2 separate regions of the Homo sapiens genome follow, and region 2 is linked to region 1. The links are contacts of gene promoters, found by promoter capture Hi-C in human tissues and cell types (Jung and others, 2019). All regions are on one chromosome and are shown on one strand. The core of a region is centred on a gene start or on the middle of the fragment in contact, and the rest is flanking DNA. Distances in the headings are between cores, read along the strand shown.

The links. The method cuts DNA at HindIII sites, captures the fragments that hold promoters and counts their contacts. A contact is called where the count stands out against the background at its distance.
Region 2: a contact is called between a fragment that was not itself captured here and the fragment with the promoter of AVEN in region 1, in 2 of the 25 tissues and cell types used here (lymphoblastoid cells and spleen).

The regions. Positions count from the first base shown.
Region 1 is chr15:34,034,452-34,041,975 of GRCh38, forward strand. It overlaps AVEN (apoptosis and caspase activation inhibitor), which reads right to left and starts at 4,753. Exons shown (of 6, transcript NM_020371.3): 1 at 4,329-4,753. The coding sequence starts at 4,595. The region is part of intron 1 of CHRM5 (cholinergic receptor muscarinic 5); the gene reads left to right. RefSeq lists silencers at 3,726-3,785, 4,136-4,195, 4,286-4,495, 4,676-4,845. The HindIII fragment of the contact is 11,161 bases long and covers 2,358-7,524 here.
Region 2 is chr15:34,575,689-34,583,212 of GRCh38, forward strand. The region is part of intron 1 of GOLGA8B (golgin A8 family member B); the gene reads right to left. Among named protein-coding and RNA genes, the nearest start is that of GOLGA8B, 4.2 kb to the right of the region's middle. RefSeq lists silencers at 7,264-7,443, 7,474-7,524. The HindIII fragment of the contact is 3,792 bases long and covers 1-3,251 here.

The sequences.
Region 1 (7,524 bases), core at 3,503-6,002:
AAAAAAAAAAGGAAAAGAAAAAATCAATTTATAAAAATTGTGTTTTTATTTAAAAAGTCAATATATACAATATGTTGGAAATTTTATATTTTGAAATTCTCTGATCCATTGATAAAAATGTTAGATATAAACTTTAAAGTACATTGTACATGGTTTCCCAAAATTTTTTTAGGCAGAATACAAGCAAAAAAGTTCAGTTGTCTGTGTTGATATTGAAAATATGTAAGTGAAATAGTGGTCAGTGAGAAAAGCAACTTAAAAACAGAATATGTTAACAAGGATAAGGATGCCAAAATAATTACAGTGTGTGTGCAATGGTTTGCAGCAGGAGGAGAGGTCAATTTCATGGATTACCAAGAACTAATCTTAAAGCAATCTTCTGTTGGGACACTTAAGCACATTCAGTTTCTAACCAAATTTGCTTCAGGCTTTCTGGAAAAAAAGGAAAATAAAGTCTAGAGGCTGTCATTTCAGTTTGAGCTTTTAACAGGCTCTCAGTCTCTAGCTGGCTGACAAGCGGCTGGTGGCTACTCTGAGCAACAATGAAGGAGCAAGTCCTTAGACACCTGCCTGTAACTGATCTGACACCATTTCTTCCCTCCAGGTTCACACTAAACTTGAATAGAAAATTAGAGATTTCCTTTTTACCCAGTGAAATGAAAATGTCAACGCCATCGGGTATTAATTACTACTCAGGCTTTGTTTACAAAGCAAAAGTTTGATCAGAATTAAATGCCTCCAGATTCTACTTTTTAGTACAACTATAAACAGCTGTCTCATCTTTTATTGAATATAAATCATTTTAAAAGGAATATGAAAAGCTGCAATATAAACATGGAGCAAGAAAGCAAAGGTCTGGTAACACCCACAATAACTGAAGATGGTACCAATGTTACCTTAAAACCTTATAACCATACTAACATATCAGTTAAAAAAATAATCAGGCATGTGAAAGAATCACTCAACAGTCCTCCACACACCCCTTTTTCAAATCTCAAAGTCATTCCAGGAGCAGTTTAGAGCAGCAGTCGAAAGAACAGGCTCTGGAGTGAAAATGCTGGGGTGGAATCCAGGCTCAGCAATTTTCTGGTTGAGTGATATTAAAAAGTTATTTCACCTCTCCTAACTGTGAGTTATTTAACGGTGCCTCAGCTGTCTCATCTTATATTAAGTACTCGACAAATGTGAATTACTGTTATTACTAGAGGAAGGAAAAAAGAAAAAAAATTCCAAAGACTACCAGCTGGCCTTGTCTTCCTCTCTGCTAACAGCCCATCACAAAGATAAATACTAAACAATCCTAGTATTGGGGGCAGTGATAGGGGGATTATTTATTCATTTAGTTAGTAAGTTAGTTATTTGAGACAGAGTCTCACTCTATTGCCCAGGCTGGAGTGCAGTGGCAGGATCACAGCTCACTGCAGCCTCCACCTCCGGGGCTCAAAACAATCCGGCTGCTTCAGCCTCCCTTGTAGCAGGGACTACAGATGCACCCCGCCATGCTCGGCAGTTTTGTATTTTTTTTATAGAGAGGGGGTCTCGTTATGTTGCCCAGTCTGGTCTCGAACTCCCAGACTCAAGTGACCCACCCACCTCAGCCTCCCAAAGTGCTGGGATTACAAGCGCGAGCCACCACACCCAGCCAGTTTTGTGTTTTTTTTTTAAAGTTAATGATTGTATCTAGTACAATAATGCTTCTAGTGAGTATTCCGTGAAGATAATTATGCTCACCCATAATCAGTAAGCTTAGAGCTCAGACCATTTACAGAAGGAATGATTTAAGAGCAAGAGACTAAGAGATGTACTCAACTTAGTACTCAACTAAGTTACCCTGGAGTATTACATAGCTATGTAGAAGTTGGTTAGATTGATTTTGTTTTCCATTTGTATGCAGTGGTCCAAAATAGAAAGCAAAGGTGTACACAAAATTGGTTTCTGAAGGTGGACAACTGGTCTTTACATGGCTAGGAGTCTATTATGATTTTTTTTTCCTTTGATCATTTCGGTTACTCTCTCCTTGGGGCACAAATGCACCATGGGATATGAGAACAAGAAGGCTTCAGGAAAGTCAATCAATCTTGTCTCATGTAATGGTTAAGCACCAAAAATGGTGTCCTAGCAAGACTAAATACAAACAGTACTTCAGAATCTGAGAAATGGAAGGAACTTAGAGATGACCAATCCAAACCAAAATTAAGGAACAATCTGCCCAACATCCCTCCCTCCAGCTTTGGCTGAAAACATGATGATGAAGGGATAAGACCAACTCGACAAAAGAAAAAGCCTAAAATTTTAACAGAATGTGTTACAATACTATCTTAAATTTTTTAAAGTCTTGTATTATTCTTTCTTTTAATGATATACCATCATGACCAGGCGCAGTGGGTCACACCTGTAATCCATATCCCAGCACCTTGGGAGGCCGAGGCGGGTGGATCACCTGAGGTCAGGAGTTCGAGACCAGCCTGACCAACATGGTGAAACCCCATCTCTATTAAAAATACAAAATTAGCCGGGCAAGGTGGCTCATGCCTGTAATCCCAGCTACTTGGGAGGCTGAGGCAGGAGAATCACTTGAACCCGGGAGGCGGAGGTTGCAGCAAGCCAAGATCATGCCATTGCACTCCAGCCTGGGCAACAAGAGTAAAACTCCGTCTCAAAAAAAAAAAAAAAATATATACCATCATTTCACCCAATTTAATTCAACAGAGATTAACAAAACAGAAGCACCTTCACTCACTCAATTCAACTTAAAGACACTTATTAGTAAAGTCCTGTGCGCCAGACACCATAGTTAACACCAAATGTACCATTACTACAATTACTCTTAAAGCACGATCCCTGCAGCTAAGGAATATCTACTTTGTTCTCAATAAAGTGGTAACTGGTTCACGAAAAAGTAAGAGATAAAATACTGTTGACTCAAGGGCAGCTTGATATAAATCCCAGCTCTGCCACTAGCTGTGAAAGCTTAGGCAAGTCAGTTAACCTGTAAAAATAAAGATTACTCTCTATATATGGATATATAAATAATATATAACATTGTAGTTAATATATAATTACATACTATTATATTACATAATTCTACATTACATATATATTATATATATATAATAGAGTTATAAGAACAAAATGTGATATATAGTGGGCACTAGGTTGGTCTTAGTTTCTGTCATTTACCTTAGTTTCTGTCAGTTTACACGAGGTAAACTGACCCTAAAAATGTTTTTATATCTCATTCAAGTTTTGCCTATTACCTATCTTAATCCTAACAAGATTTAAGTTTGTTACATTTAAATTTAAGTTTTATACTTTTTTTTCCAGCTCTGTATTGCTGTATACAACTACTCTCTTTAGGGATATCTTATCTGCTATGCCCTCAAGATATTGTAAATACTTCAGTAAGAGCAAATTTTGCCTCATGCAAAAAAGAATTTTTTAAATCAGTGTGCATAAGAATGCAGAATATAAAGATGGTCTTGTCCTACAGATGTTAAGGTAACAGAACAACTCATAAAAAGACAGTCCTCTAACTCCTTTAGCTGAGATATGGTTAGCTTTGCCCCCATATATATCATCCCCTGCTCCAATCTCCAAAAACTTCCTTCTATGAATGTGTCAATAAGACTGATGATATTGCTATTAAAACTCAGAACTTGACTGCTCATTTATAAATTGAAAATTCAAAACGACAAAGCCCAGTGCTCGCTGATTTCTACACATACAGGCATAATAAAAGAGAACTACGCTATTACAAAGAACTATGCATCTGGTCCCGCCCCCAAATACTAGAGTCCAGTCGTAGGGGTCATTCTTTCACTCAACAAACTTTTTATTATGCGCCTACTGTGTACTAGGCATTGCACAGACAGTTAACAAAACAGACCAAAAAATCCTTTCCCTCCTAATAACAGGAGCGTGCCCGTAAAGGCTGCCGAGGGACCACGTCGTGGCCGCGCCTCCGTCCCATAGTGGTACTCGTACAGACAGCCCAGCCGGCCCACGGGCCGCCGAGACTTGCAGCCCTGACACACGGCCTTGGCCTCTGGGTTCCTAACCCGGACCCTGGGGCAGGCTGGGAAGCCCTCCTACCCCCACTGTCTCGCGCCAGCCCGGCCAGGAGGCCACGAGGGCCAAGCGCATACCCAGGCGCGCCCCCGCCACCAGGCGCGCCCCCGCGCCACCATCCGCCCGTCCCGCGCAGGCGCCGGCGCCGCCGCCCGTCTGGCGCGCGCCTGGCACGCTCTCTTGCGGCTCTTGACTGGCGGCCTCGGCCCCACTTGCCCCAGTTACACGCGGTCCCAGCCCCACCAGCCGTCGCCTCTTACCGGCGCGCTGGCCCCTGCGCCCCAGCCTCCCGGCTCCCGGCGGCTGCCTCGCGGGGCGCCTCCTCCTCCTCGGCCTCCGCGAGCGCCGCGGAAGCCCCGGCCACGGCCACGGCCCCGGCGTCCGCCTCCGTCCCCGCCGCCGCCTCCGCCGCCGCCTCTGGCTACCGCCGCTGCGGCTCCGGGCCGCTCGCTGTGGCGATCTCCGCCAGGCCGGCCGCGGCCTGGCCGCCGCCCACGGCCTCCCCGAGCTCCTCGCTCCGCCTGCATCTGGCCGCCGCTGGCGGTGCTGAGCGCGCGGGAGCCGAGCTGCGGCGGAGACGCCCTGGCCCCACCGGAAGCGGGCCGCACGGAGGAGCCGCGAGCGAAAGGCGCCCGGTAGCAGCGAGGCGCGGGGTGCGGGGCTAGGGATCGAGGCCGGCCGCAGCGGAGCGGGGCGGGGCGGGGCGGCCGGCGTCCCGCAGGTGGGGCCGGAACCGGGACCGCGGGAAGGCCGGACCGCTGGGAGCTGGAAGTGGTGGGGGTCTGCAGCGGGGCGGGGGGATTCTCAAGGCATCAGAGATAGGTTGGGGGAGAGACCGTGCTAAGTGCAAGGACGAGTCATAAAATAAAATTTGTATGATGTGAACTCTCGGAAAAAAAAAGTTTAAACGTATGTATTTGCATAAGAAAAGGTCTAAACAAATACATACTAAAATGTTAGTGGTTAACTGCTGAGATTTGAAGTGAGTTAATTTTTTTTCCTCCGTTTAATCTAATTTTCAGCAACGAATGTGTATCATTTTAAAACTATACCGAAGTCAGGGTTCAGGAGGTGTGGATGTAAAGACAAGAGTTTGTGTCTGGTGAGAGGTGGACTGCAGCACGTGGGAGAGAGAACAGTGCGAAACTGGGAGATGGCTAGAAAGGGCGTCAAAGTCCTCAGCAGAATTTCTGTAGAAATGACTACTACAGCTGACATTTATTGAGCACATGAGTATTTCATTCTCATAACAGCTCTATGAGGTAGGGATGACTGTCATCCTTATTCTGCAGTGAGGTAACAGCCTTGGAAAGGTTAAAAAAAACTTGACTAAAGTGAATAACTAGGTAGTGGTGGAACTGGCATTCTAAGGCGGTCTCACTCCAGTCCCTTCTTTCAACCAAGGAGAAAACAGGAAGGGGAACAGTTGGTTACACAGATGCATGAAAGCAGTTTTTAACTTGGGACTGAAACCACCTGAAAATAATGAAAGCAAGGGCTAAAATGTCAGCCTAGCAGAATAAGTGTTTTCTTCCCCCTCAGTACTTTCTGGTTCTTTCCTATATCCATACATAGTTAATACTTTTCATTGCTTCTAATTGCCTACTCTGCATCAGGCACAGTGCTATGTCCTGAAATTAAAAACAAAAACAAAAAAAAAACCTTGCCCCTGCCCTCAAGTAGCTCACTGCCCACAAGGAAGATAATCTAGTCGTGTGAATAGATGATTACAGTACCGTGTTGCTGAGTGCAGTGAGAGATTCAAGATCAAGGTCCAAAGAAGAAAAGTTAAATTATATTTAAACGGGTTACCCAAGGCTTCATGAGAAATAGACCCCTGAGCTAAAGCCTAATGGTTGAGTAGGAGTTTGCCTGGTTGGTAAATGGGAGTAGGGGCGCCTTCCAGACAGGGGGAACTATTGAAGGATTGTCAACTCCAGAGAAACAGTCTTAAAAATAGTAACACTTGTAGAGCACTTATATGCACCAAACACTATTCTACATACTTCTCATATCACTTCATTTGGGACTAATAGCTGGCCTACGAGGTAAGCTAGTGTTGTCTCCATTTTACAGATCAGGAATCTAAAACAGATGTTAAGTAACTTCCAAGATTACACAGTTACAGGCCAGGTGTGTGGTTCGTGCCTGTAATCCCAGCATTTTGGGAGGCTGTGGCGGGTGGATTGCCTGAGACATGAGTTCAAGATCAGCCTGGGCAACATGGTGAAACCCCATTTCTACAAAAATTAGCTGGGCATGGTGGTATATGCCTATAGTCCCACTACTTGGGAGGCTAAGATAGAGAATCATTTGAGCCCAGGAGGTTGAGGCTGTAGTGAGCTGTGATTGTACATGGGCAACAGAAGGAGACTGTCTAAAAAAAAAAAAAAGATTTCAACATGAATTTTGAGGGAGATGAACATTTAGACCATAGCAGTGGGGAAGGGGCATGGAAGAATATGGTTAAATATCTACCAGCATATCACTGGTCTGGCCTCTCACCAAGTTGAAGATCCACACATTAATCTCAAACTAGACATTTGCACAAATCGGAGTTTCTCAATGTTGGCAAATTTAGGGCTGGGTAACATTTTGTGGCGGTAGCTTATCCTGTGCATTGTAGAATATTTAATAGCATCCCTGGCCTCTACCCACTAGATGCCAGAATGAACCCCTCTCCCCCTCATTAAGACAACCAAAAACATCTCCAGACATTGCCAAATGTTCCCTGAGAGGCAATCACCCTGGATGAGAACCACTAGCACAGATAGATTGGTGCAAAAGGTACGTTTTAGTATCTAAGGAGCTACCGATGTAATTTATCCAAAAATTTATCCAGCCTTAAATTTGCCAACATTGAGAAACCCTGATTTGGGCAAATGTCTGGTATGAGATTAATATGTACATCTCCAATGTAGTGAGAGACGAGACCAGTGGGAAATAGGGCTTTAAGGAACTATATAACTATCCCTTGAGAAGCCTCCAAAATTATGAGGTTGAAAAGATCAGTGGCTTGCAGATTAAGCCAGTGTTATTAGGGCACATTCACTATGCTTGATACTTTCAACTAGTCAGTGTAAGACTCAGTAACACTTTTGAAAGGTATGCCATTTTAGAGAGAGATTGGTTTGTGGATGATGCCAAGTTTTTTTAACACTTATTTTGCACCTGATACTATTCTAAGCACTTTCCACGTACTAACTCATTAAATCTTCAAAATATCCCTATGAAATAAACACTATTATTATTCCTATTTTACAGATAAGAAAACTGAGTTGCAAAAAAGTTAAATAATTTGCTCAAGCTAGTAAGTAACAGAACTGGGATTTATACCAGTACAGTCTAATTCCAGAATCCATGCCTGTAAGTCTATTCTGCAGATGCCCTCAGAAGTCCGGGGGTATGTTACTCTCCATCTGTTCATTCAAGGCGTATCTTGTTTTTCTCAATTCA
Region 2 (7,524 bases), core at 106-2,605, 540 kb after region 1:
ACCCACTCTTCTAGGATGGGGTCCATGATCCACCCCAACCTACCGTGGGGCTCTCACATCTTCCAGATTGTGCCTCTCTAGGAGGGCCTTGGACCCAGAGCCAGAATGGGGCTCTGATGCCATTGCACATTCTCCAGCAACCCCTTCCATGCCCTCCCTCCTGATCCCACCCAGCTCTAAACTGGGAACAAGAAAGCTGGAATATAGTAGCTGCTTGGAAAATACCTACTGAGTGCATGGGTGGATAGATGGACAGTGCTCCAGGCAAAGGGACTCGGGGGTAAGAAAAGTGAAGGGTACCTGCTCCCGGTTGTACCACTGCAGAGTCCCTGAGTGTCAAAGGACTGAGAGGTGAATGACGGGACGGGCAAGGTGAGACCTACCAGGTTAGCGTCCCGCACCCCTTTGTTTCCACTATTAGATTAAGCCACCCTATGTGATGGATAAAAGGAGCAACACATACAAGGAGTTAGGCCAGGGTTGCCAAAGTGAGGGGTGGGAATGCTGCCAGTCCAGGGGTCCCCCACGGCAGCTCCCCAAATGAAGTCAAGACAAGTTGGAGATGAGGCTGCCTCTAGGTGTATCAAATCAACTGAAGTAGCACCAGTCCTCAGTGCTGATTAAGCACAGGCACGCCTGTGATCAAGAAGAAAACCATTACTTAATAAAATGCAATTAATTTAGAAGCTGAAAACTGCGAAAGCCCAAGGGAAAGACACAATCAGGAGTTCTTGGTCTGGAGGGGCTTCTGCTCTCAAAGCTTCCAACCCAACACAGCACAAAGACGTCTTCCCCAACAACCACACATCCCACCTGCAAAACGATGACATGCTCCTCTCCAGGTACCTGAACCTTAGGACTCAAAGGGTAGAGAAAGTTCACAGGCAGAATCTTCACAATACATGCACAAAAGAAAGGCACTTCTAGTAGGAGCTGTGGGTCAGGAAAACCTCGATTTCACCCAATGCCATTCCCGAGAGAATCAACCATCAATGTGACCCATTCAGTCCTGCCTCAGGGGCTCAGAATCTAGCAGTCAGGCCAGGTGGGAAGTGCAGGGACCTGTGGCCAAAATCGGTCCATTCATCACTCAGCTGACAGCTTTCACGCGTACCAGCCAGAATCAGTTAGAGGCTGGAGGTAGTGCCAAGTGTCTGAAACCCAGCAGGCAGGTTGGTAAAACACTCACACATCCTAACCCTGGTGACTGCACTGACTGACTGCTTTCCTGTAGCAGAACAGTTGCACACATCTCATCTCCTCCATCCATAATAACTCAGTGGCTGGTGAGGAATGGGACACAGACCTCCACGTGCCCTTCTTGGGATGAGTCAAGACAAACTCTGAGCAGTGACGCTCTACAGCTGGCTCACACGTGCAGGCAGAGCCTGGCTTCCCAGAGCTTCCAGTTCCTAACACATGCCTGGCCCCACTGCACCACACCCGTGACAGCTGCCACCAGCTCCGGATAATTCAGACAGATGCTAGAGCACATGGCTCACTTATTACACCAAAAGACTGAGAAACAGAAACTGTGTTTTAATTGCACAATGCACACACTTGCTTCCAGAGAGACCTGAGAAATCCATCATCCCTAAATGCATGCGGTTACTCAACTAGTGGCTTTACTATTTTTGAAACAATAGATTTTTCCAAGACAGCTGATAATCAAACCAACTGCGGGAAACCATAAACGATACTTGTTTATTAAATTAAGAACACATACAACAGTTCAGAGGAATCCATATTTAGAGCTGCCTTGCTGGAGAATCAATTCCAGGAATGCCAAACCAACCAAATGAAAAAAATTATATATCATACACACACACACACACACACACACACACACACACACACACACACACACACACAGATGCGTCACTTAATGACAGGGATGTATTCTGAGAAATTTATCATTAGGCAATTTCATCATTATGAGAACATCATAGAGCATACATTATACAAACCTACTACAACACACTAGGTTATAGGGTACAGCCTACTGCTCCTAGGCTGCAAACCTAGGCAGCATGTTACTGTGCTGAAGGTGTGTATCTAAACATAGAAAAGGCACAAAGTTAAAATATGCTATAAAAGATAAAACATGGTGCCCCTGTCTAGGGCACTTTCTATGAATGGACCTTCCATGAATGGAAGTTGCTCCGGTGAGTCAGTCTGTACACTAGTGCAGACTTTATAAACATTGTACAGTTAGGCTACATTTTTTTAAAAAATAAAGTAACTGCACTACAACTTTACGACAATGTCACTAGGCAATAGGAATTTTTGAGCCCCATGATATTCTTATGGGACCTCTGTCATATACGCTATCACTCACAAAAACAATGTCATGTGATGCATGACAGTACATATGTATCTCAACTGAAAATCCTAAATGTCAGTAGTGTTCTCTGACTCACTATTTACTAGTAAGTTTCCTCAGAACTGTCTTTGCCTGAGAGTTTCACAACCAAGCGTCTCTCTGCACAGTTGATTCTAGGGACAAGAAGTGCTAAGAATCCATGTTGGCTTCAAGTGCAAAATGGAAAACACCTTAGTGTCCCACCAACCATGTTAGCCACCTTCCTGGAGGGCAAGCTCCCACGCCCTTTCCCCATCGCTGTGAAGAGCTCACGTCATCTGTGGCATTTCCATAACTCTCCGATGCCAGCCATCAGTCTCTCAGCACGTGTTGAAAATTAGCCCCTGTACTTGCCCACCAATGGTCATAAGTCCTAGTCATGCCCACCCCGTTAAAAACAAATCTGATACAAAATGGGCCCCAGCAGGAGACAGAGAGAAAACATGGGCCTCACACTCTCTCCAGCTCAGGCTCAAAGGCCAGCACTGCCCCGTCACAGCAGAGTGCTCTTAGGCAACCCATAGCTCAGCTACCTGTCCCCAGCCTCCTCGTCGCGAAGTTAAGACAAGACCTGCCTTCTGGATTTGTAGGGAAATTATTTAAAATGACAAACAAAGAGGGATGGAACTCAACACACAGAATTGCCCGATGATGCGTGTTTCATTCCAGTGGTTTCGCCATGAAAACCATCTTTAAATGTTGGAGTGTTTCCGTTTCCAGACAACTAGAGATGAAAATATTTCCACAGTCACTCAACGCAGGTATCTCAACCACATATTTTTTTCTCTTAATTTTGATCCTTGAAACACAAAACAACAGATGCACCACCTTACATTAAAACAGCCCTTTAGAGTTTATGACAGGCCTCCTCTGCATTCTCTCACTAGGCCGTAGCTGTAACTCACAAACCTGACCCTTAAAACTCCCAGGACAATAAGAGAAGCCACACCATGGAGTCCTTGCTATCATAAAATATCTCGCATCAGTTCAATATCGCATCTCGTCTGTGCCTCAAAACAACCACAGGCAAGAGGCCTCATGCGCACATTGCAGATGCTGAGAAAGACTCTCAAGCCAGAAGACTGGCCCTGGACCCCAGGGTTTAGTGGCAGGGCCAGGCTGGAACTGAGCTCCTGTTACTCCAAATCCCATCCTCTTTTCTGACCTCCCAGTCCCTTTCTCATAAAACCAAAGCATCTTCTCCAACCAGGCCAGGACACACGCAGGAGAGAGTCAAGCAGGAGGAGGCTTCTGGAAGGGAAAGCAGAGTGGCTGAGAGCCCTGGAACAGAGTCTGACATTAGGTACAAGACAAGTTTGGAAAGATCCAGATGGAGTGGGAAGGGAATCTGGGCGTGGGGGTGCCTCCTTCCAAAGTGCATCCACATCCGAGGTGACTGCAGGGAGACGCAGCGCTGACTTTGGCAGCAGGGACCACCTGGGTGCAGAGAACCCAAACAACTGAAAATCCAAAAAGGAATCTCAGTGCACAATAAGAAAGCTCATTCTTTGGGCTGGTTACCTTCCCAAACACGTTCTCCTCTGGCCTATGTGAAACTGACGTTGCACAGTACAACTCTGCAGCTCTTTCCTGACTGCCCACTGAGTAAGGGTCTGTGCTACATTCTAGGAGGATCCAAAGGTGAACACAGCTGGGTTCCAGCTCTGGGACTCGGGAAAAGGAGGCACAGGGAGCAGGACATGTGCTGCAAGGAGACTACTGCTCCCGTGTTTCATTCACTCACTCATCCAACAACAGCACTAAGGCTCTGCTGTGTGCCAGGCACTTTTCTAGCTACTGGGGATCCAGAGGTGAACAAAGTCTTTTACATTTGAGTGATAAGAGACTGACAATAAACAAACAAGTACATAAATAACACACTGAATGTTGAGTACTAAGGAGAAACACAAAGCAAGGTTAACAAGAGAAGGGGAAGTAACGCTAATTTATGCAGGGCCATCAGGGAGCCGGCAATAGGTGAGGGGCTGGCCAGGTGGGCATCTGGGGGTGGCTGATGCCAAGGGGGTGGGAACAGCAGGTGCAAAGGCCTGGAGGCAAGAGTGGCCTGGCAAATCCGAGGACCAAGGGATAAGACGAAAGAGCCTACATTCAGTTAGGATCTCCGGGATGGACATGGGCCAAGATGACAGGTGGGGATGGGGTGGGGACAACCCAGGGCAGATCTGGGCAATGAGCCTGTCTGCCTGGAGCCAGGAGAGCCTGGAGGGACCATTCTTGGGAGCGAGTGGGAGAATTTGAGAAAAATCAGGCCGAGACACATGGATGTGGAGGGAGCACTGGAAAGCCACTGAAGGCCTGGGCAATGGTGTGTCACCATTGGGCCTGGGCCAACTTGCACAGCCCAACCTGGGAAACCTCACAGCCGGCACAGAAATCATAAAGCACACAGCAATGGCACCCCACCAGTACGCAGGGTTCCAGAGAGAGCCTGGCTGCACGACCTTGAGGTCACCTAACTCCCGGGCCTCCCTTGTGTGTCTGGACAGGGAGAGAGGGGAGGATTGGCTTCAGGAGAGGCGAGAAGCGACAGTGCCCATGACAGCTGACTCAGCCTGTGCCAGCAGGCTGCTCTGAGACATGAGCTGGACCCAACCCAGGCGGTGGGCAGCAGAGGGGTGGGGAGGAACTCTGGGAAAGGAAAGAGCCGGAGAAGCCTCTCTGTGGGCGCTCAGGCCAACCACCATCCAAGGGAACATTGAGCACCCCCAGCCCCTGCCAGGCACACAGGCTGCCTCCTGGTGAGCAACCATCTCAAACTTGACCTACACTGCAGAGGCCTGCCTGGTCATCAGTGGCTACCTTACACCCTACCTGTGTCTCCATGTTCCTAGTCCTCACGGCCACCTGGCAAGGGTGAGGAACTGAGACTGGGTTGAGGACACACAGCCTGTGAGTGGTACAGCCAGGGCCGCCACCCAGGCCCAGAGCTCTCTCCGTTTCTCTAAGGACCAGGCTGAAACGCAGGGCATGTGATCTCTGCCGAAGACATTGAAGCCACCCAGTGATGTGTGCAGGGCCTCGATCCCCACCGACCGCCAGTCCTGTCCTCCCCTGGACAGTAAAGGTTTCTCCAAGACTTCAGACCATGGTGTCACCTGAGGCCCACACCTGTTAAGTCACTGGGGCAGGTATGCGTGGCAGAGGACAGCGAGGAGTGCCGGAGAGGAGCTGAGGCCTGGAGGGGGCCTCTTCAGCCAGGTTCAACCCCCACTCTCCCCACTCCAACAGCCCTCACTGCAGCCACCGCGGCCCAATCCAAACAAAGCCCAGCCTTATGCCAACCTCACTATCAACTGTTTTTCCTCTGACTTCCTCAGTTTTGTCTGGGAAAAATCAAGGTGTCTTATCCCATCTCTAAGCTTCCAGGGGTGTGATCAGTGTCTTTTACAATTACCTTTTACTTTTATCCAGCATTTCTTAGCTCAGTTGGCAAACTGGATATTTATGCAGCTCCATTTCACAATCCATCCCCACCAATTATTCCTGTGAAACTAACATTTTGATTTTTTTTTTTTTAAAGGTTAGAGCTACTTAAGAAGGTTATGTAAACAAGTTAACCAGCAGGCCACAACTTGGGTCTGGGGTGTCAGAGAAAACATGCAAGGTGGAAGAGAATGAGGAGCTGACGGTCACCAGCTTTACCTCCTTCCAGCACCCACTCCTGCTCACACACACTCACACTCCGTGGGACTCAGCCTGCAGCTTCTCCCAGCCCAAGAGCCAGACAGTGGGGACGGGCACAGACCGCACTTCCTAACAAATGAGAGGGAAGACTTGGTGCCCCATTGCTACTGCCATCACCCAGTCCCAGCCCAGCCAGGGAGCCCACTCCAAGGGCCCCCCAACAGTACTGCTAGAGCCCACCGAGGGCTGCCGGCACACAGCTGCAAGGTCCAGCTTTATCTGCTCACGCCCTGGACACTGCCCGGAGCCCCAGCAAGTTCCACGTGTCCTTAACACCCCAGCCCTCCTGCCCCGCAGTTCCTAAGCTCAGGAGACCCTCTCCAGCCCAGGCTGAAGGGGGAGGCAGCCCCCACGGTCACCCAGGAATCAGCGCAGAGTGCAGGGCATCCTGGACTCCCCGGACTGGGAAACCCAGTTCCTGTCCCCCTGCGTAGTGGCCACACCTCTGGGAGGGGAGAAACCCCTGCCTCACCTCACTGGAGGGACCCTGACCCAGAGGCCTGAGAAAAAGCCACCTGCAGGCTCCTGGCAACTGCCAACCTGAACCTTAGGAAAACTTGTCCCACTTCAACCTGCAAAGCTCTCAGATCATTATTTCTAAAACCACTGTCCTTTCTCAACGAGGAAGAAAATAGAAACAAACAAACAAAAGCAGAAAGAGGCACAGGAGGTTGAAGAGGCCAGAGGCAGTTTAGCCCAAAAACAAAGTGCCAGACGCAAGATGCGAAGTTTGGGGCGCTTCATCCACCGCATGCCCGTTTAAGAGCTGACTGCACTCAACCACAGATTTACGTCTGGTGCCTGCCAGGTCGTATCTCAAGAGATCTGAAAAAATAAGCCTTTCTTCTGCCAATAAATACTAAGACTAGCAGGCCCCTCTAAGGCTCTGCTCTCCACTGGGGTACCGCAGGACAGGCCCCTCGGCGGGCGTTCCCCGCACCCTCCCTCCGCGTCGGCCCCGGGGAAAGGAAGTTCACCCCTCGCCTGGGCTTACCAATGCCCGCCGCCCGACCCATGGAGCCCTGCTTGGGGACTGGGGGCCTCGATGTTCTCCTTCACCATCTGCGGCCAGATCTCCCTCCAGCAGCCTTGCCAGGCAGTGCCTGGCCTGGAGAAGGGGCCCTGCCCCTTCCGGGGCAGGTCTCCGGGAGGGGCAGGTCCGCGGCGTGCCTCCAACCCGGCGCCTGCAGCCCCGGGGCAACAAGGTGTGGGGTTTTTAATTGAGAAGTTTTTCTCTCTGGGCCTTATTATACAGGAAAAGGGAAGGGGCGAAGATCCGGGCTCGGGTTCTCCCGGGGAAGCGAACCCAGAGGCGACCCCAAACTCAGTAGTTGCCGCCCAGCTCGGGGACTTGATGCCGGCGTCAAGCGGGGCAGCGGAACGCACCAGCGGCCCGGCCAGCCCAGCGAGATCCGAGCGGGCGGCCCCGCCAGACAGCGCCACTTGCCCGCGCCGAG